Regions from separate parts of the Homo sapiens genome. Here all the other regions are linked to region 1. The links are contacts of gene promoters, found by promoter capture Hi-C in blood cells and fetal thymus (Javierre and others, 2016). All regions are on one chromosome and are shown on one strand. Each heading gives the region's core, a stretch centred on a gene start or on the middle of the fragment in contact. The rest is flanking DNA. Distances are from core to core; before and after follow the strand shown.

Region 1 (3,870 bases), core at 665-3,164:
AGGGGGAAGAAGTATAGTTTTGGTAGAGAGCTTGGGATTTGGCCCCATAAGAGACCCAAGTTCAAAATTGTAACTCTGTTGCCTGGCAGCGGCAAAGTCCTTTTGTCTTCATAGTAATGAGACAGTGGACAGTTCCTACTGGCAAGTCAGTGGTCCACACAGGGGCCGCATATCAGGCTATCCAGGTATCCCAGCCCTCAAAGTGGGTTATAAGGTATCCATCCCCCCTACCCCCATTCCAAGAAAGTGGCTTCTGGCCAACTCAGGAGGGGGCTGGCAGAGTTGCACTCATGAAGCCCGGCTTCCCTTCAGGAAAGCTACAGAGAAGTGACTGCCCTGAAATCTGAAACTTAACGTTTTTTCCCCAGTTTCACAGGGTTTTGCTTTCAGGTTTCTTTTGCCCTCTGCCATTCTGGGCAGAGCAAACTGAGCCCTGTCTTCCCTGGATGCTATCGTTCAGGCCCTTCAACAAGGCCAGGGGTCTGTCATCCCTGCCCAGGATCTCAGAGCTAGACTCCTTTCTGGGGACCCTGGGGGCACACACTGGGAGGGGGATGGGGGTGGGGAGTGGACCCTGCAACCTCTCCAAATCCCACAGTTCTTCTGGCCCAAGGGTTTGGAGGAGATTCACAGACCCTACAGTCCTTCAAGATGCTCCATAGTGAATCCAGTGAACTGAAAAAAGGTGGAGAGGGTCCTGGTAGGAGCGTGGGCTTCTGATTCAGAGCTGGGACCAAGCTCTTACCCTGCCATTTCCTAGCATTTGTTCCCTGGGGCTGTCTTCTGTCCGCATAACGGGAGCAACACCAGTTGTAGAGGATCAAATGCAGCAAGTACTCCCTGTAGATAAGAGCGAGTGTTACTACTCTGCCCCCGCCATCCCGCCCCAACCTCTATCACCCTACTCCCAGATTATCTCCCTATGTTTTGAGTTGCAGGACTCTCTCTCAGCATTTTTTTTCTGGCGGGGGGTGGGGGTGGTACCAACCCAGAGTCCGGGCCATCTGGGGCTGTCTCTGCTTGCTTTCTCAAATCTGTAGTCTCTTCTCCCCTGACTGGCAGGGCCGGCCAGAAACCAGTGCCAGCCAAGACTGGATGGTCTGCCTGATTCGAAAAGTTGGGGCGTGCTTTCTCCTTCAACTCTTTCAAAGAAAACGTTCTTGTCTGGATCTTTCTGGCTGTGGTGACCGCCGGCTTGACCTCAGTGGACCCACTCATTTCTGGAACTGTCCTCTGCACCCCGCCCTGCCCTAAGTCCCGCTCCAGATCTCACCCCATGCCACCCAATCCGACACCCGACACACAGAGTCCTAGGGTCCAGGAGCGGCCGTCCCAACACGGGGCGCTTGCACACGCCGACAGACCTCCTTGGAGGAGCCGCTCGCAGGGAGGACAAGCCCGGGACTCCGCCCCCCGCCCTGCCACGAGTTCCACCGCGAGATAAGAGGGCCCTTCCCCAACGACGCAGAATGCCAGAAGGCAATCTGGGCGCGGGTTGCTGAGCCCGGGCCCCTCCTTAACTTCCCCGACCCGGTCTTTCCCCACTGATCTCTCCGACCTGCCCCTCTGGGTAGCTTCAGCCCCGGGTCCACGCGCTGCTATTGGCCCTCCCCGACCGCTCGGCTCCACCTTCAGCGTCGCGATTGGTCAGCTCGCGGGGCCCCGCCCCGTTTTCCTGGAAAGTTCTTGGAAATCTGTCAAAGTATTTCCTTTCACTGCTCAGGGCCCCAGACCCGGCGACGGGGCCCGCGCACCCCGCCCGGGCCCCACCGCTCAGCCCGCGGTTCTAGGAAGACGCTGCTTCCGGGAAGGGCTGGAACGCGGCAGACAAAGGATTAGGCAGCAGCTCGCCCCGCCCCGCTCGTCTGGCCCGCCCCCCTCGCCCTCGCAGGCGGTCCGCGCCACTGCCTCTCAGTCCCTGTCCTGCGCCCGCGCGCCCCGGGAGCCTACCCAGCACGCGCTCCGCGCCCACTGGTTCCCTCCAGCCGCCGCCGTCCAGCCGAGTCCCCACTCCGGAGTCGCCGCTGCCGCGGGGACATGGTCCTCTGCGTTCAGGGGTAAGCGCGGCTCTCTGCCCCCTTCCCGGCCACCACGAGGGGCGCACGGGAGAACAGGGGCTTCGTGCTAGCTGCCGGGCATTGGGAGGGCTTGACGGGCCAGAGGTGACTGAGCGCAGACGGACCTCAGGAGCAAGGCTCTGTGTGGGGCTGTGACACTCCCACTCCCCGCCCCCACACACTTACCTCAATTCCCACTGTGGATTGGGAAACCGGGGGCTGGCCGGCTAAAGGAGGAACTCACAGGGTGGGCTCAGCCTGGGTTCTCATTGGAGCAGATGGATGCTAACGGCACGGCGTCCCCCAAGATGTGGCCAACAATCCCAGATATTCTTCTGGGCCCAGAGCACTCTACGCTAGCCTGCCTGCTGCCCTGCCTGCTAGTAACCTTGGACCAGCCCCTGGCCCCCTCTGTCCTGGTGTCCCCTCTCCTGCCCCAGGCTAGCAAGTAGGCTCTTCTTGGGAAGCCAGCCGCAGATCCTTGCCTTTCCTCAGGCTGGCACCTGATGGTCTGCAACTCTCGGGAGGCCCTGGGTTTGGCCTGGTCCTGCTTGGGGTACCCCCACAATCGTCTCACAACCCTGTCTCAGCCCAGTCTGGGATCCCAATGTGAGAAGGACCTTGGCTCCTGCCTCTCATCTTCAAATTTCCCAGACTTGAGGTAAGGGACAGTGGAGAGGGGATGCTGATAAGACAGAGTCTTGACCTGAGCTGAGCATTCCTGGCCATCCACTCTGTCCTGAACCTCAGCAACCCCTTCAACCAAAGGGTCTGATGCTGGCCATGGTGATGTGACAGGAGCTCAGGAAGCTCCAAGGAGAGAGGAAGAAGGTATAAATGGGTGTTCTGCACTCAGGGAGGACTGGGTGGCTGTGCTTATCGCAACTGGCCTGGTGCCAAGTGAGGGAGGGTGGAAGGTGAGGCCAAGGAAGAGGACATGGAGGTGCTGGGAAGACTACTTCTCCCTTGCTGTCTCCAGCAAGTTCCTTCCTCCTGTCTGCATTCTGGGACTCCTGAATACCTGCCCCACCACTGCCTTCCACCCCAGGAGCCTCCCCCTGCATTCCGGGGTCCCATAGCCTCTTTCACTTTTTACCCTAGGTGAGCACCCCCTTGTAAGCTCAGGGCTACTGTTGGGTGTCAGGGAACAAAGTTTTAGACTGCTGCGCTCCAAAGCGGGCACACACATGTACCTAGAACACACCAGCCACTGTCCCCACCATGATGATGACACAGCCATGGACACACCCCTGCCCAGGTACACACTCACCAGGAGCTTGTGGTGATCAACACAGCTATTCATACACCCAGCTACCACATCAGCCCCAAAGGTGCCCACACCTACATGTGGGATCTGAGGACCGGCTAAGCTATCTGGACGTGGCCACCCACAGAGGTTCCAGCCTGACTGGCTAGCCACCAACCATGCTCCTGGGAAGGTAGCTCTGGGCCCCAGCAAGCAGGTCATCTCAAAATTTGGCCTCCAGCTCTCCAAGAGGGATTTCCAAGATCCCACAGTACAGCCAGGGTAGGTGTGGAAAAGTTTTTGTCAGGCTGTGGTGTGCCAGAGTTGTGTGGCCCTTTCTCACTGTGAGTGGTCATAGGGCCATGATTTGTTAGAACCTAGAGGGTCACCTATAACCTACACAGGAGTCAGGTCTGGCTCCTGCCACCAGCTCCTGCCTGCGCCTTCCTGCCTCACAAGCAATACTGGCGCTGTTTGCCCATGCTGTCCTCTCTACCTGGGGTCCCTTCCCCCAGCTCCTTCCTTTGGCCTGGAAGACACAGCTCAGGAGCAAGCAGACCCTGACTC
Region 2 (3,870 bases), core at 991-3,490, 930 kb before region 1:
ACCATCCTGGCTAACACGATGAAACCCCATCTCTACTAAAAATACAAAAAATTAGCCGGGTGTGGTGGCAGGCGCCTGTAGTCCCAGCTACTCGGGAGGCCTGTAATCCCAGGGAGGCTGAGGCGGGAGAATGGCGTGAACCTGGGAGGTGGAGCTTGCAGTGAGCCGAGATCGCACCACTGCACTCCAGACTGGGCAACAGAGCAAGACTCCGTCTCAAAAAAAAAAAAAAGACAACCTCAAAATTTCCTCACCTGTCCAGAGTGCCAACAGGTGCAGACAGCTGCCTTCCTCACCAGACAAGGAAACTTGAATCCTGCACAGCACCACAGTACCCAGCCACATTCCTACTATTAATACTACTGAGATTAGAGGTCCTATATAATAATACACATTAACTACTACTGACAACCAGCACTGACCACCCTCAAAGCTTGAGGCCCTCATCTCCAGTCCTCGATGCAATCTGCAAAGAAGGCTGTATTAGGCCCATTTTACAGATGGAAAAACAAAACCAAACCAAAGCTCAGAGAGGTTAACAGCTTATCAAGGGTCAAAAATTGAGCAAGAAAAAGTGGGAAGACTCCAAAAACCAAGCTCTTCCCATTGTACCAGACATTTCTTCTCTCAGACTTTTTCTAAAGAAATAGAAAACTCTAAGCCTTATTTCCAAGAGTTTCTGAAGTTGATCCATTTAACTAAGAGGTGGCCAAAAACATTTATTTAAGCAATCACCTTGCCTTTAAGGCAACAAATAAACAAGTTTTTATTTTCTTTGATCAAGTGAATAGTCCAGATGGAAAATGAGAGCTATTTTGAAGAATTCATTTATTATTTAAATACCTTGATTTTACATTTCTTCATTTATTTTTGCCCAAGATATATACACAGAGAGATAGACAGCAAAAGGCAGAATTTCATTTTAATAGATCAGAATGAAGAGTAACAAAGCAAAAAACATTCAGATTTACATTATATTTTATGCAGTAAAAATTAAGAAGCAAATGACTTTCAAACAGACTGAGCCTTACCTCAATCTTACTCCTCCTGTTCCAAGGGACAGCACTCCAAGTGATCAGCAGACACTCCCAGCCTACATACAGTGAACCAGACATAGGGGATAAGCAACGCCTTCATGCTCCCAAAACCACAGTGGGAAGGAGTGTGATGGCTTCCTGGGGAATCTGAACACATATAGTATTTGTAAATCACTGCTCGTTGAGACATACACCAAAACAAAATGTTTTACCTGTGGTTTGTCTACAGGAGTACTTAAAATTAACAGGTGTATAAAATAGTGCAAAAATAATCCCATACCAGCATGAACTCACAGTGATAGCTAAACTTTTTCCATGGAGATGTTAAGATAATTAACTGTCACCAGTCAAAATTAATACATTATAAAAACTTTATTCAATGTCTTTACTGATTAAAAGCTTGATATACCTGAATCACTTCTTTCTTCATAGACCTATAACCACCTCTAAACCAGGAACTACCACTAACAAAATGTTAAAAAATATCATCAGCATTTTTGAGGTGCCCAAAGCAGTGCCTGGCAAAATGCAATAAATGTTCGTTTATGAAAGAATGAATGGAGAAAGAGAAAGAATACTACTTTTTTTTTTTTTTTTTTTTTTTGAGTCAGAGTCTCGCTTTGTCGCTGAGGCTGGAGTGCAGTGGCACGATCTCGGCTCATTGTAACCTCTGCCTCCCAGATTCAAGTGATTCTTGTCCCTCTGCCTCCAGAGTAGCTGGGACTACAGGCACATGCCACCCCACCGGCTAATTTTTGTAGTTTTAGTAGAGACAGGGTTTCGCCATGCAGGCTCAATCTCCTGACCTCATGTGATATGCCCGCCTCGACCTCCCAAAGTGTTGGGATTACAGGCGTTAGCCACCACACCCAGCCAAGAAAGAAAGAATACCATTGAAGAAAAATAATTATTTAAAGCTTAAGGAAAAAGATAATGTTTACAATAATGAGAACTATCAGTACAACTACAAACAGAATTACCTAACATTGCACTTGAAAGTTTATACTAGACTCCAGTTAGGCTATATTTCCTACCACTCTAAACTCAGAAGGTACAATGATTCTGATACTGTTTTTGTTCATGTAGGGTTCCCTTTAAACCTCACCTACAGACAACACACCAACTTTTGCCTGAATAATACATACAGAGCTCCGGCCCACAGCTGCAGGCCTCAGAGTTGGAGTTTGCGTACTGTCTTTCAATGATATAGATTGTCACAGGGAGACAGTGTACAGGCCAAATTCATTGAAGATGGATAATACTTCTAGTGAAGACAATGTCCTGTGAGAGTAAACAAGGATGCTGAAATGAGAGTCACTAAGATTTAATAGATTCAACGAACTCACTTCATGGCAGTAAGAGAAGATGAAATTTCATGGATTTAAGGATGGAAAGACCATTTAACAACATAAATGTTAGAGTTTTCTTATCCTTCTTTAGTGTTGCACACATTAAACAATGGTACACAAATTAGTGAAAAGAAGCTTTTAAATTTAGATTTATAAGAATTGGACTGAAAACGCCTGGAACTTACATGTATGATGAAGTCTAAGTTTGTCTATCATTTCAAATAGCCACAGTGCTGAAAAGAAAGTATGAGTCACAATTCAAAAACAACGGAGGAAAGAAAAAAATGAACAGAGAAAAGCTTTGGATCCAAATACCACAAAGAAATTCCTTACTTAAAATGTTGTCAATGACAGTCACCACTCTGACTTGGAGTAAGAAAGGTCCACACTGTCCTCTACGTGGGAACAAACTCATCCAGCCCCACATAACCCTTCCAGTTGCATCCACCTCAATGTTCAGCCACCAATATAGTCAGCCACAATCCCTAGCAAGCAACAGGAATCCTAACAGATCTGAGTCACCCACTCCCACGCAGTAAGAGGTCACTCTCCATCAGGAAGCCCACTCTGCAAAGTTTCCTTGTTCATCTCCCAGGCTGCCACCACCATGACCCACATAAAGCTGATTCTCCAATCTCAGTAGCCTATCAACCCTCCTCTACACTCCCCAAACCACAACTCCCACCGGCCTCACCCTAACGACAAGACAGCTAGCACTACTCACCGTGTGCCACTACTCACTCCTGTGATAAGTTCCTTGCCTGAAAACCACTCCTCGTCAGGGTGCATCAGGGCCCCGGAGGATCCAGCTCTCTGCTTAACTCTCTTGTGCCCAGCTGAGCTCCTGCCTTTCCAGGAACTAATCACCAGTTACCTCAGGGAAGCTAAACTCTCAATGCCTCTTCTGCCCCAGCCCGACCCCAGTCTGCCAAATTCCCAGACCTCAGGAGAGGGGGTCGGGGAGACGCATCCAGATGCGCCTTAGGGATTAGACACACAGAAGCCCCTAAAATTCCAAATACTTTCCCAACCCCACACCGCGCTCTGGTCATCCTCCGGGGCGCCAGCATCCAGAGCCAAAAGCGCAGAGGGGCAACAGTTAAGTCTCCGTGTCCCTACGACTCCCTTCCCCGGCTACGAAATCCTCAAATATCAAGCCACTGAGGCCCCGGGTCGAGGCCCAAGACCCCCGCCAAGCCTCCGGCCACTGGAGTTTCCCGGGTGGGGGACCCCGTGCCCCGAAGGCCCGGGCCGCTGGGTCCATCTAGCTGCCCCGAGCCACTGCATGGCAGGGGCCCAGGCCGCGTCTCCAGTCGGTCCCCATTGTTGCGGGACCCGGCGGCCCCGGCCGGGAGCGAGGAACCGGCACCGGCGTCTCACCTCCTGCGCCGCGGCTCCGGGCCGCGCCGGACCGCGCAGGGCCGAGGGACCTCACGTTCAGCTTCGCCCGCCTAGGCAAAGTCTGCGGCGGCGGAGGCGGGGGC
Region 3 (3,870 bases), core at 478-2,977, 840 kb before region 1:
TCGGGCCACTGCAACCTCTGCCTCCCGGGTTCAAGCAATTCTCCTGCTTCAGTCTCCTGAGTAGCTGGGATTACAGGTGCGTGCCACCACGCCTGGCTAATTTTTATATTTTTAGTAGAGATGGGGTTTCTCCATGTTGGTCAGGCTGGTCTCAAACTCCCGACCTCAGCTGATCTGCCCGCCTTGGCCTCCCAAAGTGCTGGGATTACAGGCGTGAGCCACTGTGCCCGGCCAGTTGCTTTATTTTTAAAGCTATTAAAATTTTAATCTTCTTAAACACTCTGGAAATCTTTTTTTTTTCTTTCGAGACAGGTTAAAAGAAAAGCTCACTGCAGCCTTGACCTCCTTGTCTCAAACCATTCTCCTGCCTCAGCCTCCCAAGTAGCTAGGACCATAGGCAAGTGCCACCATGCCCAGCTAATTTTTTAAAAATTTTTTTGTAGAGATGAGGTCTCCCTATGTTGCCCAGGCTGGTCTCACACTCTTGGGCTCAAGCAGTCCTCCCGCCTCAGCCTCCCAAAGTGCTGGGATTATAGGAATGAGCTACTGCACCCAGCCTGGAAGTCTTATTATAGTTAAGTGTATGACCCAAATGAAAGATCTTGATTCTTATTTAGCTTTTAAGAAAATTCATATTAACTTTTATTGCAGAATAATTGTGCCACAGAAAGTATTTTAGAGAATAACGTTGTGATTAACGTTATAATTTGCAATATCATTTATAGACTAAAATCTCCAGTTAGCAACCCGTGTGAGACTAGAAGAATCTGTCTTTGTAAAAAATTTTTAATATGGATTATTTTGAAAATCAGGATGATAAAAGCATTTATGGCAATATATTTGTATACACAAGGTTTATCCAAGATTACAGATTTTTTTTTTTTTTTTGAGACAGAGCCTCACTCTGTTGCCCAGGCTGGAGTGCAATAGTGTGATCTCGGCTCACTGCAACCTCCACCTCCTGGGTTCAAGTGATTTCTCCTGCCTCAACTTCCTGAGTAGCTGGGATTACAGGTGCCCGCCACCACGCCCGGCTAATTTTTAAAATATTTTTATTAGAGATGAGGTTTCACCACGTTGGCCAGGCTGGTCTTGAATTCCTGACCTCAGATGATTCGCCCACCTCAGCCTCCCAAAGTGCTGGGATTACAGGCATGAGCCACTGCACCCAGCCGATAACAGATGATTTAACGGGGCTTTTTGAAAATTTCCATGTTGTCCTTGTAGGAAAATCATCTCTGGTTCTTTATAGTTTCATCATTGTAGATCTAGAAAGAAGTGAGTGCCCTTTGGTGGTTAGAAACACTATTTAAGGGAAATTATGAATAATAAAGCTTTCTGCAAGAACAATTTTATCGTTTCCTAATTAATGGTTTATTGGGAGAAGTGACTTATTCCATTGTGCATTAGATTGGAAATTGTCTTGAATCCAGTGTTTAGAGAACAGATTGCAAGCCTTTTTCATATTGTGTTACTTGATTACATGATGATCTGTACTCTTCAGAAGTATCCTATGCAGCTTTTTTTAATAAATCAATATTTCTTAAAATATTTTAATTATAGCAATTAATGAGTCAGAAATCATTATTTCTCAACAAATTAGCTATTGGTGTTCCTCAGAAGTTATAATTAAGACTTATTCAGCCTGGATAACCTAAGGAGACCTCATTTACAAAGAGATGGAGTCTCTTTGTGGGTGTAGTGGTGCACACTGTGGTCTCAGCTGCTTGGGAGTCTGAGGTGGGAAGATTGCTTGGGCCCAGGAGGTGGACGCTGCAGTGAACTGTGATTGTGCCACTGCTTTCCAGCCTGGGAGACAGAGCGAGACCCTGTCTCAAAAAAGAAAAGAAAAAGACTTATTGCTCTAGGATGGTGTTTTTCAAATTTTGTGAAACATAGTAACATGTACTTTTTTTTAAACCTTGAAACCCAGTCCATACATTATATGTATGAAAAAGAAGTTTTAAAAACACTGTTTACTCTTTGTGCAATTCATTCTGATACTTTTTTACTTATTTCTTTTTTAAAATGCTGGTTCAGTGTACTAAGTTGGTTTTATTCCGCCACTGTTTTTAAAAAGTTGTTGACTTTTACTTTCAGAGATATTGAAAAAAAGCTTTACAATCTTTTTTTTTTTTTTTGAGACAGAGTTTTGCTCTTGTTGCCCAGGCTGGAGTGCAACGGCATGATCTCAGCTCACTGCAACCTCTGCCTCCCAGGTTCAAGGGAGTCTCCTGCCTCGGCCTCCCGTGTAGCTGAGATTACATGCACCTGCCACCATGCCCAGCTAATTTTTTGTATTTTTGGTAGAGATGGGGTTTCACCATGTTAGCCAGGCTGGTCTCAAACTGTTAACCTCAGGTGATCCACCCGTCTTGGCCTCCCATAGTGCTGGGATTACACCTGACCTAAAATCTATTTATTTTTATTTTTTAAATATATACGAAAAAATAGACACAGAGTCTCATTATGTTGCCCAGGCTGGTCTTGAACTCCTGAGCTCAAATGATCCTCCCTGGCTTGGTTTCCCAAGGTGCTGGCATTACAGGCATGAGCCACTGTGTCTGGCCTAAAATTTATTTTTATTTAAAATTATTTGGCTGCAGGCTGGGCAACATGGTGAGACCCCATCTGTAAATATATATATATATGCTGAGTGTGGTGTCACATGGCTGTAGTCCTGGCTAGTTGGGAGGTTGAGGCAGGAGGATTGCTTCAGCGCAGGAGTTCGAGGTTGCAGTGAGTTATGATTATGTCACTGCATTCCGGCCTGGGTGACAGAGTGAGACCTTGTCACTAAAAAAAAAAAAAAAAAAAAAAAAAAAAAAAAAAAAGAATTTCCTTTTTATATTGTTCATTGCTAGTGTATAGAAGTGCAACTGATTTTTGTATGTTGATTTTGTATCCTATAACTTTGCTGAATGTGTTACTTCACTGACAGGTTTTTTTGTGTATGGAGTCTTTAGGGTTTTACACATATAAGATCACGTCATTTGCCAACAGAGGTAATCTTACTTCTTACTCTCTAATCTGGATTCCTTTAATTTCCTTTTTTATGTCTAATTACTCTCACTAGAACTTCCAGTACTATGTTTAATAGAAGTGGCAAAAGTGGACACCTTGACCAGGCGTGGTGGCTCACGCCTGTAACCTCAGTACTTTGGGAGGCCGAGGTGGGAAGATCGCTTGTGCTGAGGAGTTCAAGACCATCCTGGAAAACATAGTGAGACCTTGTCTCTCAAAAAATAAGTGGATATCTTTTTCTTGATCTTAAGGGAAAGCCTTTCAGTCTTTCACTGTTGAGTATGATATTAGCTATGAGTTTTCATAAATGGCCTTTATTATGCTGATGTTTCCTTCTAGAATCTAGTTTATTGTTTTTTCATTACAGGGTATTGACTTGTCAACATTTTTTTGGTATCAGTTGCAGTGGTTATGTGGTATGTTGAACTGTCTTTGAATTCCTGAGATTTAGTTTATTTAGTCATGATGTATAATCCTCTTATGCTGCTGAATTCATTTTCCTAGTATTTTGTTGAGGATTTTTATAACTATAGTCATGAGTGATATATTGGTCTATAGTTTTGTTTTCTCACAGTGTCTTTAGCTTTGGTAATGCTGGCATCATAAAATGAGTTAGGAAGTGTTACCTCCCAGTCAATTTTTGGGAAGAGTTATGAGAAGGATTGGTGTTAATTCTTCTTTATTTTATTTAATTATTTAAAGAGATGGGTCTGGTTTTGTTGCTTAAGTTTGTCTCGAACTCCTAGCCTTAAGTGATCCTCCTGCCTCAGCCTCTCAAATTGTTGGGCTTACAGGCATAAGCCGCCATACCCGGCTTTAATTCTTCTTTAAATGTTTCGTAGAATT
Region 4 (3,870 bases), core at 643-3,142, 820 kb before region 1:
AGTCATAAGCCACCGTGCCTGGCCTTGTGATTTTTTAAAAAGTGTAAATGGGTTACACATACGTATGTGGTTTTTTGTTTTTGTTTTTGTTTTGAGGCAGGGTCTGGCTCTGTCGCCTATGCTGGAGTCCAGTGGCATGATCTTGGCTCACTGCAGCCTCGGCCTCCTGGGTTCAAACCATCCTCGCAAGTAGCTGGGACAACAAGGGCACACCACCACACCTGGCTAATTTTTGCGTGTTTTGTAGAGGCAGGGTTTTGCCATTTTGCCCAGGCTGTGGGTTATACATTTGAAAAGCGATGGGCTCCTGTGATCCCCTAGGAAAGCAAAGCTCTTGTTACTTCTATTTCTGGGACATTTTTCTAATATTCTTATTTGGTGTCTTTTCTGGTAGAGTGAAATGGGTAATTTCTTCTCGAGCTATGACATTATTTATCTTTGCTTATTAATAATATCAGTTTTAATTTGTTTTTATTTTGGTGTTTATGCAAGATAGGTAGTCTTTTGGGAGTAATAAACTAATCTATGTGTGTACATACAAAATTACTTATGGCTAAGATAGAGAAAAAAATATCAAGGAAACCTGGGGATGCTTTACAGTTTCATTTTCTGACCCATAGTAGACATCAAAATGTGTGTGAATTAACCAGAGAATGAATACCAAACTCCTAGACTTAGGATCAGAAATCTGAGCCACTTTTATCACATTTGGAGAAGTTCCTTACCTCTTCCTCTTCTTTTAAGTGAGAATCCTAATACCTGTATAATGGAGCCCTCGTGAGCATTAAATGATGTAAATATTTGTTGGCACTCAGTAAGTATAGGTTGTATTTAAATATTTATCTAAATTTAGGTCGTTTTCAGGTTTGGAATGGATCGTGTTCTAAAATTGCCTTTGTATTATTACCTAAACTTTGTACTAAGAGTGACTTGATTGGAGATGGTCATTGTATTCTGCAGATATCTATACTGGCAAATTTTCCATCCTGTTCAAGGGCTCCTTTGCCCACAATTTAAAAGCATTGTTTTATTTGTATTTTTTTGCAGGTTTGCATGCATCCCCACAATGTTCTGTCTGATGTGGTGAACTATACCCTGTGGTTAATGGAGTGTTCTCATGCTTCAGGATGCTGCCATGCTACCATGTTTTTTTCAATTTGCTTCTCATTTCGGGCCGTCTTGGAGCTCTTTGACCGCTATGATGGTCTTCGTCGTCTGGTGAACTTGGTGAGGTTCTTTCAGTGCTTTTCTCCCTAGGATTGAGGGTCCTGGTTGTCTTGGCTGCCCTTTAACGGCACACCCTTGAAGAAAGGAAGCTTCTGATTAGAGGAGTTTTGCTGCCATTCTTTTTGTGAAGTTTTTTTTTTTTCCCTTTCTTCACAAATTTCTCTTTTTCTTTAGTAGTTAGAGGACACTGTGCCGTTGTAGACTTGCCTTGGATATAGTAATCTTATAACGGGGATTGGCAGTTGATGATCTTGATCTTTGTAAAAGCAATAGTTTTATTCCTGTACATTTTTTAATATGATTAAAAGCTTGTTCATTTTTTGGTATGAGTTTAATGTTTTGCTTTCATATAGCTACTGTTAGCATGCTATATACATAGATATACATAAATATGCGTTGATATTTGTCAGTCTTGTTAAGCATAAAAGTTTACTGATACATAAGCAGAATATGTATGGAAAGTAAAAAAAGTTTACTAAAATATTTTCCCTTTTTTAAATATTTTTACTTAACTCTTCTTGCCTTTTCCCCTCTTTTGCCCCAATATTTTGCATCTTAATAGATCAGTACTTTGGAGATTCTAAATTTGGAAGATCAGGGTGCACTTCTGAGTGATGATGAAATATTTGCTAGCCGCCAAACTGGGAAACATACCTGCATGGCCTTGCGCAAATACTTTGAGGCTCACCTGGCCATTAAATTGGAACAAGTGAAGCAGTCACTTCAGAGGACTGAGGGTGGCATTCTTGTCCACCCACAACCCCCGTACAAGGTGAGAGGACCTTGCCTTGAAAGGGAAAGTTCTGTTAGCCCTCTCTGTAGCATCTCAGTCCTGAAACTCACATTCAGATCAGTGGACTCTGTGCTATGTCCATTGTTGGAGTATACTTCCCTGTATGAAGGCAGAACAATTGAAAAATGGATGTAATAGGTGAATTTCAGGGAATTATTTTGCTTCCAGTTGTAAGTTGCTGGGATTCTAGAACTAAAAGATTAACTGAAGTGTGTATAAAAAAGCTTTCTTTTTTTCTTTTTGAGATACGTCTCCCTCTGTCACCCAGGCTGGAGTGCAGTGATGTGACCACACCTCATTGCAACATTAACCTCCCAGGTTCAGGTGATCCTCCCACCTCAACCTCCTGAGTAGTTGGGGGACTATAGGCACACACCACCACACCCAGCTAATTTTTAAATTTTTTTGTGGAGATGGGGGTCTCACTATGTTGTCCTGGCTGGTCTTGGAACTCCTGGACTCAAGCAGTCCTCCCACCTCGACCTCCCAAAGTGCTAGAATTACAGGTGTGAGCCACTGTACCTGGCAAAGAGCTTTTTTGTATGAAAAGTACTAGATGATTTGCCTTCTGTGCAGAATTTCTTTTCTGAAAATGTGTTTATAACTCCACTTCACTATCATTGTGGAATTTGATATGTTTTGGGATAATGACGAGTAGCTGCATGTTTTTTAAAAAATCACCAGCAGATTTCTTGAGACCAGCCTGGGCAACAATAGTGAGACCCTGTCTTTACAAAAATTTTAAAAATTGGCTGGGCCCTGTGGTGTGCATCTGTAGTTCTAGCTACTTGGGAGGCAGAGGTGGGAGGATCATTTGAACCCAGGAGTTCAAGACTGCAGTGAGCTACGATCATATCACTGCACTCCAGTCTGGGCAGAGACTGTCTCAAAAAAAAAAAAAAAAAAAAGGGCATGGTGGTACACCTGTGTCAGCTACTTGGGAGGCTGAGATGGGAGAGTCACTCGAGTCTGGGGGTTTGAGGCCGCACGTGATCGGGCTATGGCACTCCAGTCTGGGCAACAGAGTGAGAACCAGTCTCAAGAAAAAAAAAAGTCACAAATTGAAATCAGTCACATGATGCTTCTTTCTCTTAAGCTGTAACTTATATGCACAAAGGAAACTTTTGTTATCTTTTTGGACAAATCATATTGTGAGTCTAGTTATAAATAAGATAAAAGATTAAGCAATCTATGGTCATTACTTCACATATGGGCTTTTGACTCAAGAATTGTGGAATTTGAAAGGTATTATTATTTAATTTATAATTAAAACCTTGGCCAAGCATGGTGGCTCATGCCTGTAATTCCAGCACTTGAGGAGGCTGAGGTGGGAGGATCGCTTGAGTCTAGGAGTTCAGGGCTGCAGTGAGCTATGATCATGCCACTGCACTCCAGCATGGGCAACAAAATGAGACCCTGTCTCTACAAAAAATAAAATAATTAGCTGGGTGTGGTGGCATGTGCCTGTGGTTCTAGCTACTTGGGATGCTGAGACAGGAGGGCAGCTTGAGCCTGGGAGATTGAGGCTACAGTGAGCCGTGATCAAGCCACTGCCCTCCAGCCTGGGCAGCAAAGTGAGACCCTGTCTTGAAATAAGTAAATAAAATAAAATCTCTTGGCCAGTGAGCTGTGCTCAAGGAGGTAGTAGGCAGATGTAGAGTTATATATAATAATAATACTATATATCTCTCCTTATAGGCATGCTCATATACTCATGAACAGATTGTGGAAATGATGGAATTTTTGATAGAATATGGCCCAGCGCAGCTATATTGGGAACCAGCTGAAGTTTTCCTCAAACTTTCTTGTGTGCAACTCTTGTTGCAGCTTATTTCTATTGCCTGCAATTG
Region 5 (3,870 bases), core at 910-3,409, 800 kb before region 1:
CCACACTGGTAATAATATGGTGCCTGTCCTTTGGTTTGAAATGTTAGTGAAATCTCCAAAGCACTGTTGCCAATGTTAGTAATTACTGACAACTTTCACTAGCATGTTTTCTATGTATTTGGTAAGAGTGACCAGTTTCCTACCTCCCAGTTCTCCAAGAATTGAATTAGCTTTTATCTGTCTTCAGAAGGATTTTACTTTTGCTCTGTAAAAAATCAGTTGCCACATAAGAGGAAAATGAAGTACTACTGTTGGGAGGAAAAGAGCTCATAAAGCATTCCTGTATATGAGGATACCCTAGGATATTTTCAGAGACATCATTCAATAATATGCATTCTACATGTATTTGTTTTACCTTGATCTCATTGACTTTTAAAGTATCAATACCTGGCAGGAGGAAAAAAAGTGATATTTTAGAATTTCCTCCCATGAGATTAGATAAGTTTTGTGTAAAATAGTTTTCCTTGACCATTCCCCTCCTAGTGGGACCTTCGAACTTTTCATCTTTTGCATACTGTTCCCGCTCTGGATCAGTGTCGCGTGGTGTTCAATCACACGGGAACAGTGATGTATGGAGGTAATAAACCTTATCCTTCATTATTCTCTTTCCTTTTGCTCTACCCCTTCACTTAATTTGATACTTCTTTTTGGAACCATCTCTCACTTGTGAATTGGAAAGCATTTGAGAGTTGTAACATAAAAGATAAAAAATTGATAGTATGAATGGTGACAAAAGATATGAAAATAATGTTGGTTTAGGGTGAAAGGCAGCTTACTTTGAAGATAACAAGGAAATCTTGTATGGAAAGAAATTTCATGCAGTATTTTCCAGTGTATCATTATGAACTTAAGAGCTTTTGCATTTGTCCTCTTGTGTTGTTATAAGCCTTGTAAGTACAGTAACACTTCTTGGAGGTAGATGAGAGGCTGAGGATATTATTTGTCACAATAGGTGGGATATGCAAGGAAGATGCTCTGAGAGGAGCTAACTAGATGCAGAGTAGATTTCTGTACAAGGGAATTTGTATGTAAACCTATATGCAAGTAGATTGTTTTGATTGGCCATTAACATTTTCTGCACTTGTGAAGAGGGGATGTTTGTGATTCCTAATAGTGTTTCCTCCCCCACTCCCCCTCAAGCTATGTTGCAGGCAGATGATGAAGATGACTTAATGGAAGAGAGGATGAAAAGCCCCTTTGGGTCATCCTTCCGAACATTTAATGCAACTGACTACAAACCTATAGGTAAGCAGAAAGGGACAGACATTGAACATTTTGTCGTGTTTTGGTGTTCCTTATTTAAGATCCTTCATTTTCTGGAGGCCTGTAATTTTTTATTGAAAAACAGAGAAGTTATGGAAATACTTTTGAGCAATCATCCTGAATTCCTTTAGAGGAAAAGCAGGTTTTAGGGTCACAGCAATAGTCCAATCCCAATCTTCTCACATTCTATTTTCCAGCAACCATTGATGTGAAACGGAACATCTTTGACCTGTGTACAGACACCAAAGACTGCTATCTTGCTGTCATTGAGGTAAAGGGAGCTTGCAGAGGCCCTGCTCTTTTGTTCTGATGTTTAGGATAATTTTCAAGTTGTACTACAGACATTTTGTCTGATATAAGATGTAAAGTCAATACATTCCTGAAGGTAGATTATTGATAACCTATTCATTTGATGGGGCTTGGGAGATGTACAGTACAAAGAGAAATAGTAAGAAAATCCCAATATAAGACAGCTTAGAGGATCCTGTCTCCTTTTTTTCTGGACTCACACTGTCATCCCTTTCTCAGAGGAATCTGGATCTCTCACCAGAGCAAGACTGGTTTGTTCCAAGGGTGATGGTTCCTCACCAAGTCTTTTCATTCTGTTTTTCTTCCCCTTTATGTGTCCTAGGTATAACATTTTCATAGTCAGCTCAAGAATTTCGGGTATCAGAAGCTTTAATAATTACAGGGTCAAGGTCATGGGCACCAGTCAGGGCTGAGGCGTGGATGTGGACCTTCTGAAAAGTAACTGCTCCTTATGGACTGGATGTTCTATTTCAGAATCAAGGCAGCATGGATGCCCTGAACATGGACACAGTATGCAGGCTGTATGAAGTGGGCAGGCAGCGTCTGGCAGAGGATGAGGATGAAGAGGAGGACCAGGTCAGTGGTCTTTGAGATTTCTTTCTGCTGAACAGTGCTTAATAGAGGTTATGCTCTGCTTTTTGCTGTAGGAGGTTTTAAAGGTCTACTCAACCTTTGCTACCTGTTGCCACATTCATAAGGCTTGTCATGTACCCTTGATCACTGAAACTCAGAAGAAATTTTATTATAAGATTTTAACCAGTACCTGATGATCCCGTGAATTCCATTTGCAGAGCAATTTAAAGCTTAGCAATCTCTGCTTTTTTTTTTTTTTTTTTTTTTTTTTTAGAATGGAGTTTTGCTCTTGTCGCCGAGGCTGGAAATGTCATGATCTCGGCTCACTGCAGTCTCTGCCTCCTGGGTTCAAGTGATTCTCCTGCCTCAGCCTCCCAAGTAGCTGGGATTACAGGTGCCCACCACCACGCCTGGCTATTTTTTGTGTATTTTTAGTAGAGACGGGGTTTCACCGTGTTGGCCAGGCTGGTCTCGAACCTCCTGACCTCAGATGATCTGCCCACGTCGGCCTCTCAGAGTGCGTGGAGTATAAGCATGAGCCACCGCACTCATCCTGGCAATCTCTGATTTTCATTCAGAGATTTCTTTGTGCCCCGTTCTGGCTTCAGATAAGCATCTCCCAATGTCAATAAAAAACAGAACAATCACTTTGCTGAGATGGACTGTAGAAATGGCTTAACCTTTATAAAGTTCTGGTTTATATTTTCTCAGTTTTATGGCATAGTCTATTATTAGGGTAAGAGTTGAACTTATAGGTAAGATAAGATTTTGATACTTTTGAGAAATTAAACATATATAAAATGTGGGTAGATAGTATCATGTCCCTCAGTCTTTGCATTTTGCTTTCATAGGGAATTTTAATTTGTGGTTGTATTACGCTAGGTGCTTGCCTGTGTGGTGTGTCAGTATGGGTTCTGAAGAGTTTCTCAAACTTCTGAGTTTCAGCAGATTTTTTCCAGCCTACAGGGCTCACAGCACATTCTCTTTCCAAGAGTACATTCTCCAGGGCAGATTCTTTTGTCTAATTTTCTGAGAAATATTTATTGCTGAGTGAGTACTGTAAAGTTGAAAATGAATGACTAGGATTTGACTTTGCTCTTCAGATATTAAAGCAGCTAAAAATGTTTTCTTCCCCAGTTCTTGGGTTCATTTCTGTTTCCCCCTACTATCGTATTCTTTAGTCTTGGTGCTTTGTCTCTCTTTTTTTTTTTTTTTTTTCTGAGATGGAGTTCTGCTCTTGTCACCCAGGCTGGAGTGTAATGGCACGATCTCGGCTCACTGCAACCTCCACCTCTGGGGTTCAAGCAATTCTCCTGCCTCAGCCTCCTGAGTAGCTGGGATTACAGGCACATGTCACTATGCCCAGCTAATTTTTGTATTTTTTTTAGTAGAGATGGGGTTTCACAATGTTGGCCAGGCTGGTCTGGAACTCCTGACCTCAGGTGATCCACCCGCCTCAGCCTCCCAAAGTGCTGGGATTACAGGCATGAGCCACCACGCCCAGCCAGCTTTGTCTCCTCTTTAAGGGCACAGAGGTGCTCTGGATGAGAAGCAGTGGCATCACAGGACCGGGGAAAGTACACTTCCCTCAGTTTGCATTGCCACAGCTCTCTTGCCCTCATCCTTCCCTACTTTTTGATAAATCATGCTCAATGGTTAGGGCTAATGTAATAGCTTTCTCTTAGCGTCCTTTCAAAACAGCTTGTACTTACATTTAAAATAATT
Region 6 (3,870 bases), core at 537-3,036, 780 kb before region 1:
TACCTGGCAGCTGTGACCACAGCTCAAGTAAAAAAACAAAAACAGGCAAATAAATAAACATGCTTAACATGTCTTTGTGTTGCTGTTTTGTTATGAACGTGCTTGCTCTCTTGCGAGGCACCTGTCCATTCCACATCACCGAGGGGTCTACGAGAGCACTGCCAAGTGTTCCTGTGGACCAGCATGACCTCTCCACAGCCTGCAGTGAGCCCCAGCCTCTAATCTCAGGTGTCACTCATGCTACCTTATCCTAGCTCCGGTAAGGGAGCAGACCTGGAGAGAGGATGCCACGGCCAGCAGAACCTGGAGTTCCTGGTTATCATCTAGGGGCTCATTCGCTTACCAGAGCTTCTGTTCTCCTCAGCCCTGACAGTGTTCCCTGTTTGAACATCCAAGGTACCAGACACGCTGAAGAATGGCATTTGGGGTGTTCCATGGTGACAAAACTGTGTGCTCTGGTTTTCCTCCCTGGCCCACACTGTCCGCAGTACCTTCCTTACTTACTTGAGACAGGGAAGAAGACGGAATCTCACCCTTCTTCCCAGCTAGAGGGTACCTCCGCATCCCTTTCCTCCCCAACTGGCTTGAGTGGCTTCAAGCTCTAGCACTGCCTAACAAACAAACAAACACCTCAGTGACTTGTGATTTCCCCCCAGAAAAATATCTATTAATTATTTCCCAATGGTCTCCACCTCGGCATCAGGGCACAAGGTGTAGGCACATGCTCTGATCTTGCACCTAGGAAACCGTCATTATCAAGGGCATCCCCTAGTCCACTGTGCTCCCCGGTAAGTACTTCAGTCTAGAGGTTCAGTATCCCCCCACAAATCTCTAGGTATGACTGGACACGGGCCTGCTCTATTACCCATCACCCCTGAACGACCAGAGAAAGCCAAAAATCACAAACAACTAGGCAAAGTTCATGAGTAAATCCAAGGAAGGCTGCCTCCAACCCTCCATTCCAGTATTTGGACTCCCGGGCCCCTGGGAACCTGAGGCAACTCTGTCTCCCAACACTGGCTATCCCTGGGCTGAGTGAGGCTAGAAAGTAGGCCGAACCAGGAGCCTGGACAGATCAGGGGCCCCGAGACCCCCTGGCATCAACAGTGCACAGCTTCTCCTTGTACAAGACTACACAGCTGCTGAAGGCTACCTGCTGCCAAACATGCTGAGTGGGCACTCTGTCCCAAACAAACAGCCACAGCTCAAACTGATGATGATGGACACACACACGGTTTAAGGCAGAAAAAACCATCAGTAGCTGCTGACCACAGGCCTTGCGCTCACCCCATCCCTTCCTTTGCATGGGCTCTACTCAGGCTTGTGTGGCAGCGTCCACAGCCCAAACTGAAGCTTGCCTGCTGTCAGCCAAGATAAAAATGAGTGTAAGTAGAGTCCAGACTGAGCCTGAAGAATTGAGAGGCCGAGAGTGACCCATGCAGCAGTGGTGCTGGAAGGATGACGTAGGGCATTCGTGTACATGCACTAGGGATGTCTTCGATTCTTTTAGCTTGATTGATTAAACCAGGACTCTGAACAGGTTTAAAAATCCATCCTCTGTCAAAGGTTTTACTGACAACTTTCCATACAGTTGGTCAAAAAATAAAAAAATACAGAACCACAGCAGACAGTATCTTGTACACTAGAAATCAACATAACCGGATTCCCTTCTCATCGTTTAAAAAAAAAAATCCCCCAAAATCTAAGAACTTAGTTTTGGTGGTGGACAGGACTTTGATCCCCACCCAAATGAACCAAAATAACCCAGGAGATAATTCAAACCAAAGTGGTAGGGTAGAGAGGGGATCAGATTTTAAAATAACTGCTTTTGTGACACAAACATGACGCTGGGAAAGACAGGCTTGGGCTAGGCAGTGTCTCTGACGATGACTATCACCATGTGTTCTTCTTCTAGCTTGCCCAATGTCCTTAGTGCTGACTGGAGGTACTGCTGGGAAAAGTCGCAGGGTGGGAAGGCGTAGAGCATGCCTGTGCCGTCTCTGCCCTTGGACCCCCCCACTGGCAAGCTGATCACCCCTGCGGCCTGCTTCTGTTTCAAGTAGGAGACCAGGTTCCTGAGAAGCCGCCTCTGCAGACCGGGCTCTACTGTGGGCATCCCCTCAGTGCCAAGCCCACTGGGGGTTGCCTGGGTGGCTAAGAGGACCGCATAGCCGTTGGGGCTCCCCTGCTTGATGCGTCGTGTGACCTCGTCAAGCTTGGGCTGGTCCAGTCGAAGGCGCTGGGCGATCTTCAGCTGGGTCAGCTTGCTCCCAGAAGTGTGGTCTTTGAGGAGACTGCTGATCACCCCCTGGTCCCCCTCTAGGATATGCATAGACGTGGGGAAGCAGCTGTTTTTCAACACCAGAAGCCCATTCCAACCCAGCTGTAGTGTCTGAGCGTACTCTGAAAGATTCTTCAGCTTTTTGGTCTCGTGTTTTGGCTCTTCCAGAGGCTTGGGCTCGGCCTCTGTGGTCCGGTGATTGCGCTCGCTGTCTCTTGCCTTCTTCCCGTGGGAAGAGTCTGCAGCCTCGTGGTGGTGGTGGTGGTGGCCCCGTTCCTCAGCCCCATGTCTGCTGTTGCTGAGGGAGTTGCTGCTGGACTCCTTGGTCCCTTCACTGGAGTGGTTCTCCTTGCGGCTGCGCTCAGGGGTGCGGTCGGAGCCCCGCTCTGACTGCTGCCCACTGCCCTTGGTCCTACTCCGTTCCTCATATGGTGAATGGGTTGTCCTCCCACGGTCACTGGAAAGGCTTCTCCGTTTCCGCCTCTCTTCCCAGGGCTTGGGCAAACCACGGTCTCCATCTGCCCCCCAACGCTCACCACTCCGGCTGCGCACTGAGCGACTGTAGCCCTCAAGGCTGTTTCGGCGGTCAGAGCTTTTACTGGGGCTGGTCCAGTCCCCTTCCAAAAAAGTCCGGTCTCGGTCTGAGTACAGAAGGTGTGGGGGCGTCCTGTCCCGCACCAGGTCGGCGTCCAGGTTGCGGTGCCGGGTGTATCCATCTGTGAGCAGCTCATAATGCACAGGGAGTGGCGAGGGCTGGTACTGCTGGGGGTACCGAGTCTCCTCTGCTTTGGCAAAATCCACGCGGAGCCTGCGGTCTGGTCCACCCAAGGGAAAACCCCTCATTTTAGCACAGGCGGCCTGGGCTGCGTCCAAGCTCTCGTACTGAATATAGGCAAAGCTATCTCCTTTGACGTGATCAATGGTCCGAATGCTCCCAAAGCGGTCAAACTCTCGGGCCAGAGCCGCCAGTGACGTGTTAGGTCCCAGGCCACCCACCCAGAGACGAGTGGTGGGGTTGGCCTTGCCATAGCCTATCTTAATGGGGTTGCGACCAATCACTCGGCCCGACATGGCCACCTTAGCCCTATGGGCCATGTCCAGGTTCTGGAACTTGAGGAAGGCATAGGCACCGCCCTGGCCACGGGCAGGCCTCTTGATGACCACCTCCTCGATGATGCCATATTTCTCGAAGGCCCTTCGCAGCTCCACCTCAGATACGCTGTGGTCCAGGTTACCAATGAAGAGGTTGCGCGTGGCCCGCTGGTCATCCTCGGGCATCAGGTCCTCCTCACACACAGCTGGGTAGCCATAGGGGCGCCCACGGTCGTCGTACAGCCCGTAGTAGTCCAGGGCCCGCTCCCGGGACAGTCCCACGGCGGCGGCAGCAGCGGCATCCAGGGCGAAGGCTGCGGCGGCGTGACGGGCACGGGGCTCCCGCAGGGGCGGGGCAGCGACGGGGGACAGCGAGCGCTGCTTGTACTGGTAGCCTCCGTGTAGCGGGAGGTAGCCGAGCGGGTCGGCGGGCGCGGGCGGCCCTGGGGGAGGCGTGGAAGCGGCGGCGCTGCTGCTGCTACTTCGCCGACTGCTCC
Region 7 (3,870 bases), core at 673-3,172, 740 kb before region 1:
GAAGGCCTCCAGCCTCTCGTAGTCATGGCCACGGCACACGTATTCTTTGTTCTGCCACAAACAGAAGAGCACACTCTATGTATGCTTTGCTTGTAGCCCCCCACCTCCACCCTGGAGTCAGTAGCTACATATAGCACAAACATATCTTAGGAGCCTTCTCTGTATCAGGCCCTGGGACAGGCACAGGGCATTGCACTCAAGGAGGCAGAAGAAAAACAAAGCGAGAATTACACTGTGGTGTGGCAGCCCCAAGGGAAGGGTACAGGCTGCAAGAAGCTTGGAAGAAGAAGAAAAACCTTACGCAGGAAAGAGAGCAAGGTGGGAGATGGGATTTTAGAAAAAGCTATGTTAAAAAAACGTCCTGAAAGGTCCACCTAGGTCAGGCTGGTATGGTATGGTGTGAGTGGAGAAGGGCAATCTATGTGGGTACCGTGACAACCAGGGCAACAACAATCAAGACAGGAAAAGGTGGAGCTGGAAAGAAGGTGTCTGTGTAGAGAACTGGTAGAAGCAGTTGGGCAGAGGGGGCACTGCCAGCCCCTCTTGACATGTCTTCAAAGGAAGAAAGAGAGAGGCATCACAGGGCCAGCCATATGCTTCCCGGGACAGGGTTAATCACTGGGCAGGCCTTGGAATACCCTGACCCTGACTCCAATGTTACCAAGGAGTGATTGCTATGGGTGCCACCAAATAATTTTAAATGGGGGGGGGGTGGTGATCAAGTGTGTGATTCTGAAGGATCACTTTTATTAGTTGGGAGAAACAGTCTAATGTTGCCCAGTGCCCAGTAGGTATTCAGTAACTGTTTATTGCATTAGTAACCCTTTGGCAGCAAATTTCTTTGCAAACATGTCAGCAGAACAAATAAACATCATGCTAAGTACAGACTTCTTAAAACTTTATGTTATGTCACATTTACTTTTGGTTATGTCTCAGTTTTTCTCTTTGTGGACAAGGCACCCCCAACTCTGCTTGCTCTGCCTATGTCATAGCTGGTCATGAGTGGGTGGCTGGAGGAAGTTCCCCTGAAACCCACTGGTGATGCAGTCTGCCCATCCAACTGCCTAGCCAGACCCATTTCAACAAAATGGTATCAGGCACTGCCAGCCCCTCTTGGCATGTCTTCAAAGGAAGAAAGAGAGAGAGAGGCGTCACAGGGCCAGCCATATGCTTCCTGGGACAGGGTTAATCACAGGGCAGGCCTTGTAAGACCCTGATCTTCTTGAAATAGGATTTCTGTCTCATTTTTACTTCCTCTCTCACTATGGGAGAACTTGGCTAAGGCTGGGCCATGTGTCTGTATTGTTTTTTTGTTTTTTTGAGATAAGAGTCTCACTCTCTTGCCCAGGCTGGAGTGCAGTGGTGCAATCTGGGCTCACTGCAATCTATGCCTCCCGGGTTCAAGTGATTCTCCCACTTCAGCCTCTCAAGTAACTGGGATTACAGGTATCTGGCACCATGCCTGGCTAATTTTTGTATTTTTAGCAAAGATGGGGTTTCACCATGTTGGCCAGGCTGGTCTCGAGCTCCTGACCTCAGGTGATCCACCCGCCTCAGCCTTCCCAAGTGCTCGGATTACAGGCATGAGCCACTGCACCCAGACTGGGCCATGTGTCTGGATGAATCAGAATGGAAGGGATTCTGATTCTGATTAACGCTAGGAAGAAAGTTAAGGTCAGGAGGAGCAGGCTGGCCTCTCCAGTGGAACAGACCAGTAGTCAAAGGACAGAGATATTTCTACATCTTTTGCTTGATAAATAAAACTGACAAAGAAAGTACTTGTGAAGAACTAGCCTTTTCATATCATTCATATGTACAACCCTCATCAACGTCTGTTCATGGGTCAAATGAGAAATATAAATTCCCTCAAGAAGGGAGGGTTGGATGTTTTCCTGACTCTTTGCAGATTAATAGATAATCACATTTGTGAGGCGAGGCAGGCAGATGGCCCAGAGAAACCAAGCTGATAGAGCTAAAGTAATAGATGGCCTGTGCATTCAGGGATGGTAGGAGAGTAGCCTAGCCTTCTGGGGAAGGCCCAGCAGGAAGAACGCACACAGTGTTGACCTTGAGGCTGACTGTTGGTTTCATATTCACTTGGGCAAGAGCTCCAGCATCCCCACAAAAGACAGATCTGGCCCCCACTGCTTTGTACCTGATTCCCACCATGGGCAAGGCAAAGAGCTACCTCCACTGGGACTTATTATTCTGCCACAGATGAACTGAGCAGCTGAAATAAGGGAAGGTAGCATGTGGGTTGGCTGAGGAAATTTGTATGCATGAATTATACATGCATTATGCCTCTCGTTGAGATTGCATCTTGTGTGGAGATGGGAATCGATTGATGGGTGATATTTCCTAACACCTCTTGTTATTTTTCCTCCATTCCCAGGGTCTTTGAAACCACATTTGAACATTTGGACTGTTACTTGTGAGCATGATGTGGATGGCTTAGATGCAGGTTTTATGCCAGGTCCTACCTGTCAGAAAGCTCCAACAACCCTGAGACACTAATGTGTCCTGTGACATGAGCATGAAAGGGTGGGAAACAGGTTGGACTACGATGGAGCATTCCTGCTTGGCAGAACAGAAACAGGGGATACCAGGGCCTGATTCTGTAATATCCAAAATAATGATGTTTTATAGTGAAATTTCATTTTTGATGTACAAATTGTGGATCTATACAGGAAGAAGAAAATGACAAGAAAGCATAATTTGAAAAGATAAAATGAGAAAAAGGCAAGTTACAAGACCAGAATCATTAGTTTGTCAAAGGACTTTCTGGAAATGCTTTTGGTTTCTAGTTCTTGTACAATTGCTTCTACTTCTTTTGCTGACTTCCACCACTTCCATTATTCTTATATGATCTATGCTGATGGGGCTAGCAAATATGCCACTTCTAAAATGCCTGGGCTGGATGGTCACTAGAGATGAAGGAGGCCCAGTCCTCTTAAGAAAGTCTCTCCACTCATTCCTGGCTGGGCGCATTGGCTCACGCCTGTAATCCCAGCACTTTGGGAGGCCGAGGCGGGCGGATCACATAAGGTCAGGAGTTCGAGACCAGCCTGACCAACATGGAGAAACCTCGTCTCAACTAAAAAATACAAAATTAGCCAGGCATGGTGGCGCATGCCTGTAATCCCAGCCACTCGGGAGGCTGAGGTAGAAGAATCGCTTGAACCTGGGAGGTGGAGGTTGCGGTGAGCCAAGATCGTGCCATTGTACTCCAGCCTGGGCAACAAGAGTGAAACTCTGTCTCAAAAAAAAAAAAAAAAAAAAAAGTCTCTCTACTCATTCCCATTCTGCTACTAGAAACACTCCTGTGGAATAGAGTTAGAGCCTTCCTGGGGATCACAATTAGGCAGTGAGCTTGCTGTCCCTGTCATATTGCCAGTGCTCACACAGATCGTTTTTCCTTCTAGCCTAGAATGATTACTGCCCAAGAAAAGTGCAAGTTGACCTGCCTTACTTCTGCAATGTGGTTAGCCTGGACTCTGCCGCTAGCAGACTAGCTTTTTTTAAAGGAGCTATTAAGCCCGGTTGACCTTTGATGTGATAACAAGCTTGTTATTGCTCATTGGCTAACCCAATTTCTCCAAGAAGACAGGATCCCAAACATATCAAAGGGAATTTTCCCAGCTACTTGCTGAGGCTTGTGGACAGTGAACTTTAGTTAAAGATATTGGAACTGGGGGTGATCAGCGATTAGCAATTAGGTCTCAACTGCTCCAGGGCCCACACATCAGGGCAGCTTCATTTAGATCATCTGAGAACACATCTCTATGGGATTCAGCCTATAGTGTATGTTGACTACTCCTAGAGCCTCTGAGTTGTGCTGAATAAATAAGAAAATCACAACTGGTGTCAGTA

Evidence for each region. Contacts are between HindIII fragments. The CHiCAGO score rates a contact against its expected background, and 5 or more counts as called.
Region 2: a fragment that was not itself captured here is called in contact with the fragment with the promoter of CISH in region 1 in 2 of 17 cell types (naive B cells and total B cells); the score reaches 7.0 in naive B cells.
Region 3: a contact is called between a fragment that was not itself captured here and the fragment with the promoter of CISH in region 1, in 1 of 17 cell types (naive CD4 T cells). The highest score is 5.5, in naive CD4 T cells.
Region 4: a contact is called between a fragment that was not itself captured here and the fragment with the promoter of CISH in region 1, in 12 of 17 cell types (naive CD4 T cells, naive CD8 T cells, total B cells and 9 more). The highest score is 10.6, in naive CD4 T cells.
Region 5: a contact is called between a fragment that was not itself captured here and the fragment with the promoter of CISH in region 1, in 3 of 17 cell types (total CD8 T cells, naive CD8 T cells and megakaryocytes). The highest score is 6.5, in total CD8 T cells.
Region 6: a contact is called between a fragment that was not itself captured here and the fragment with the promoter of CISH in region 1, in 16 of 17 cell types (total CD8 T cells, megakaryocytes, total B cells and 13 more). The highest score is 14.1, in total CD8 T cells.
Region 7: a contact is called between a fragment that was not itself captured here and the fragment with the promoter of CISH in region 1, in 2 of 17 cell types (endothelial precursors and naive B cells). The highest score is 6.7, in endothelial precursors.

Annotation. Positions count from the first base shown.
Region 1 is chr3:50,609,818-50,613,687 of GRCh38, reverse strand. CISH (cytokine inducible SH2 containing protein) reads left to right here and starts at 1,914. Exons shown (of 3, transcript NM_145071.4): 1 at 1,914-2,057. The coding sequence starts at 2,038. It also overlaps a transcript of MAPKAPK3 not described here. RefSeq lists enhancers at 1,396-1,485, 2,395-2,955 and a silencer at 1,566-2,045. The HindIII fragment of the contact is 4,554 bases long and covers 1-3,870 here.
Region 2 is chr3:51,538,812-51,542,681 of GRCh38, reverse strand. It overlaps RAD54L2 (RAD54 like 2), which reads right to left. Exons shown (of 23, transcript NM_015106.4): 1 at 3,767-3,870; 2 at 1,032-1,093. Among named protein-coding and RNA genes, the nearest start is that of RAD54L2, 2.0 kb to the right of the region's middle. RefSeq lists an enhancer at 2,987-3,076 and a silencer at 3,607-3,870. The HindIII fragment of the contact is 567 bases long and covers 1,957-2,523 here.
Region 3 is chr3:51,450,034-51,453,903 of GRCh38, reverse strand. The region is part of intron 6 of DCAF1 (DDB1 and CUL4 associated factor 1); the gene reads left to right. Among named protein-coding and RNA genes, the nearest start is that of DCAF1, 48 kb to the left of the region's middle. The HindIII fragment of the contact is 782 bases long and covers 1,337-2,118 here.
Region 4 is chr3:51,427,390-51,431,259 of GRCh38, reverse strand. It overlaps DCAF1 (DDB1 and CUL4 associated factor 1), which reads left to right. Exons shown (of 25, transcript NM_001387579.1): 11 at 1,048-1,227; 12 at 1,790-1,999; 13 at 3,719-3,870. Among named protein-coding and RNA genes, the nearest start is that of RBM15B, 38 kb to the right of the region's middle. The HindIII fragment of the contact is 709 bases long and covers 1,538-2,246 here.
Region 5 is chr3:51,410,657-51,414,526 of GRCh38, reverse strand. It overlaps DCAF1 (DDB1 and CUL4 associated factor 1), which reads left to right. Exons shown (of 25, transcript NM_001387579.1): 20 at 484-577; 21 at 1,141-1,245; 22 at 1,461-1,534; 23 at 2,047-2,148. Among named protein-coding and RNA genes, the nearest start is that of RBM15B, 21 kb to the right of the region's middle. The HindIII fragment of the contact is 436 bases long and covers 1,942-2,377 here.
Region 6 is chr3:51,392,070-51,395,939 of GRCh38, reverse strand. RBM15B (RNA binding motif protein 15B) reads right to left here. Exons shown (of 1, transcript NM_013286.5): 1 at 1-3,870. The coding sequence ends at 1,868. It also overlaps a transcript of DCAF1 not described here. Among named protein-coding and RNA genes, the nearest start is that of RBM15B, 2.7 kb to the right of the region's middle. RefSeq lists enhancers at 2,133-2,640, 2,641-3,146. The HindIII fragment of the contact is 862 bases long and covers 1,356-2,217 here.
Region 7 is chr3:51,351,063-51,354,932 of GRCh38, reverse strand. DOCK3 (dedicator of cytokinesis 3) reads right to left here. Exons shown (of 53, transcript NM_004947.5): 41 at 1-51. Among named protein-coding and RNA genes, the nearest start is that of MANF, 32 kb to the left of the region's middle. The HindIII fragment of the contact is 3,287 bases long and covers 279-3,565 here.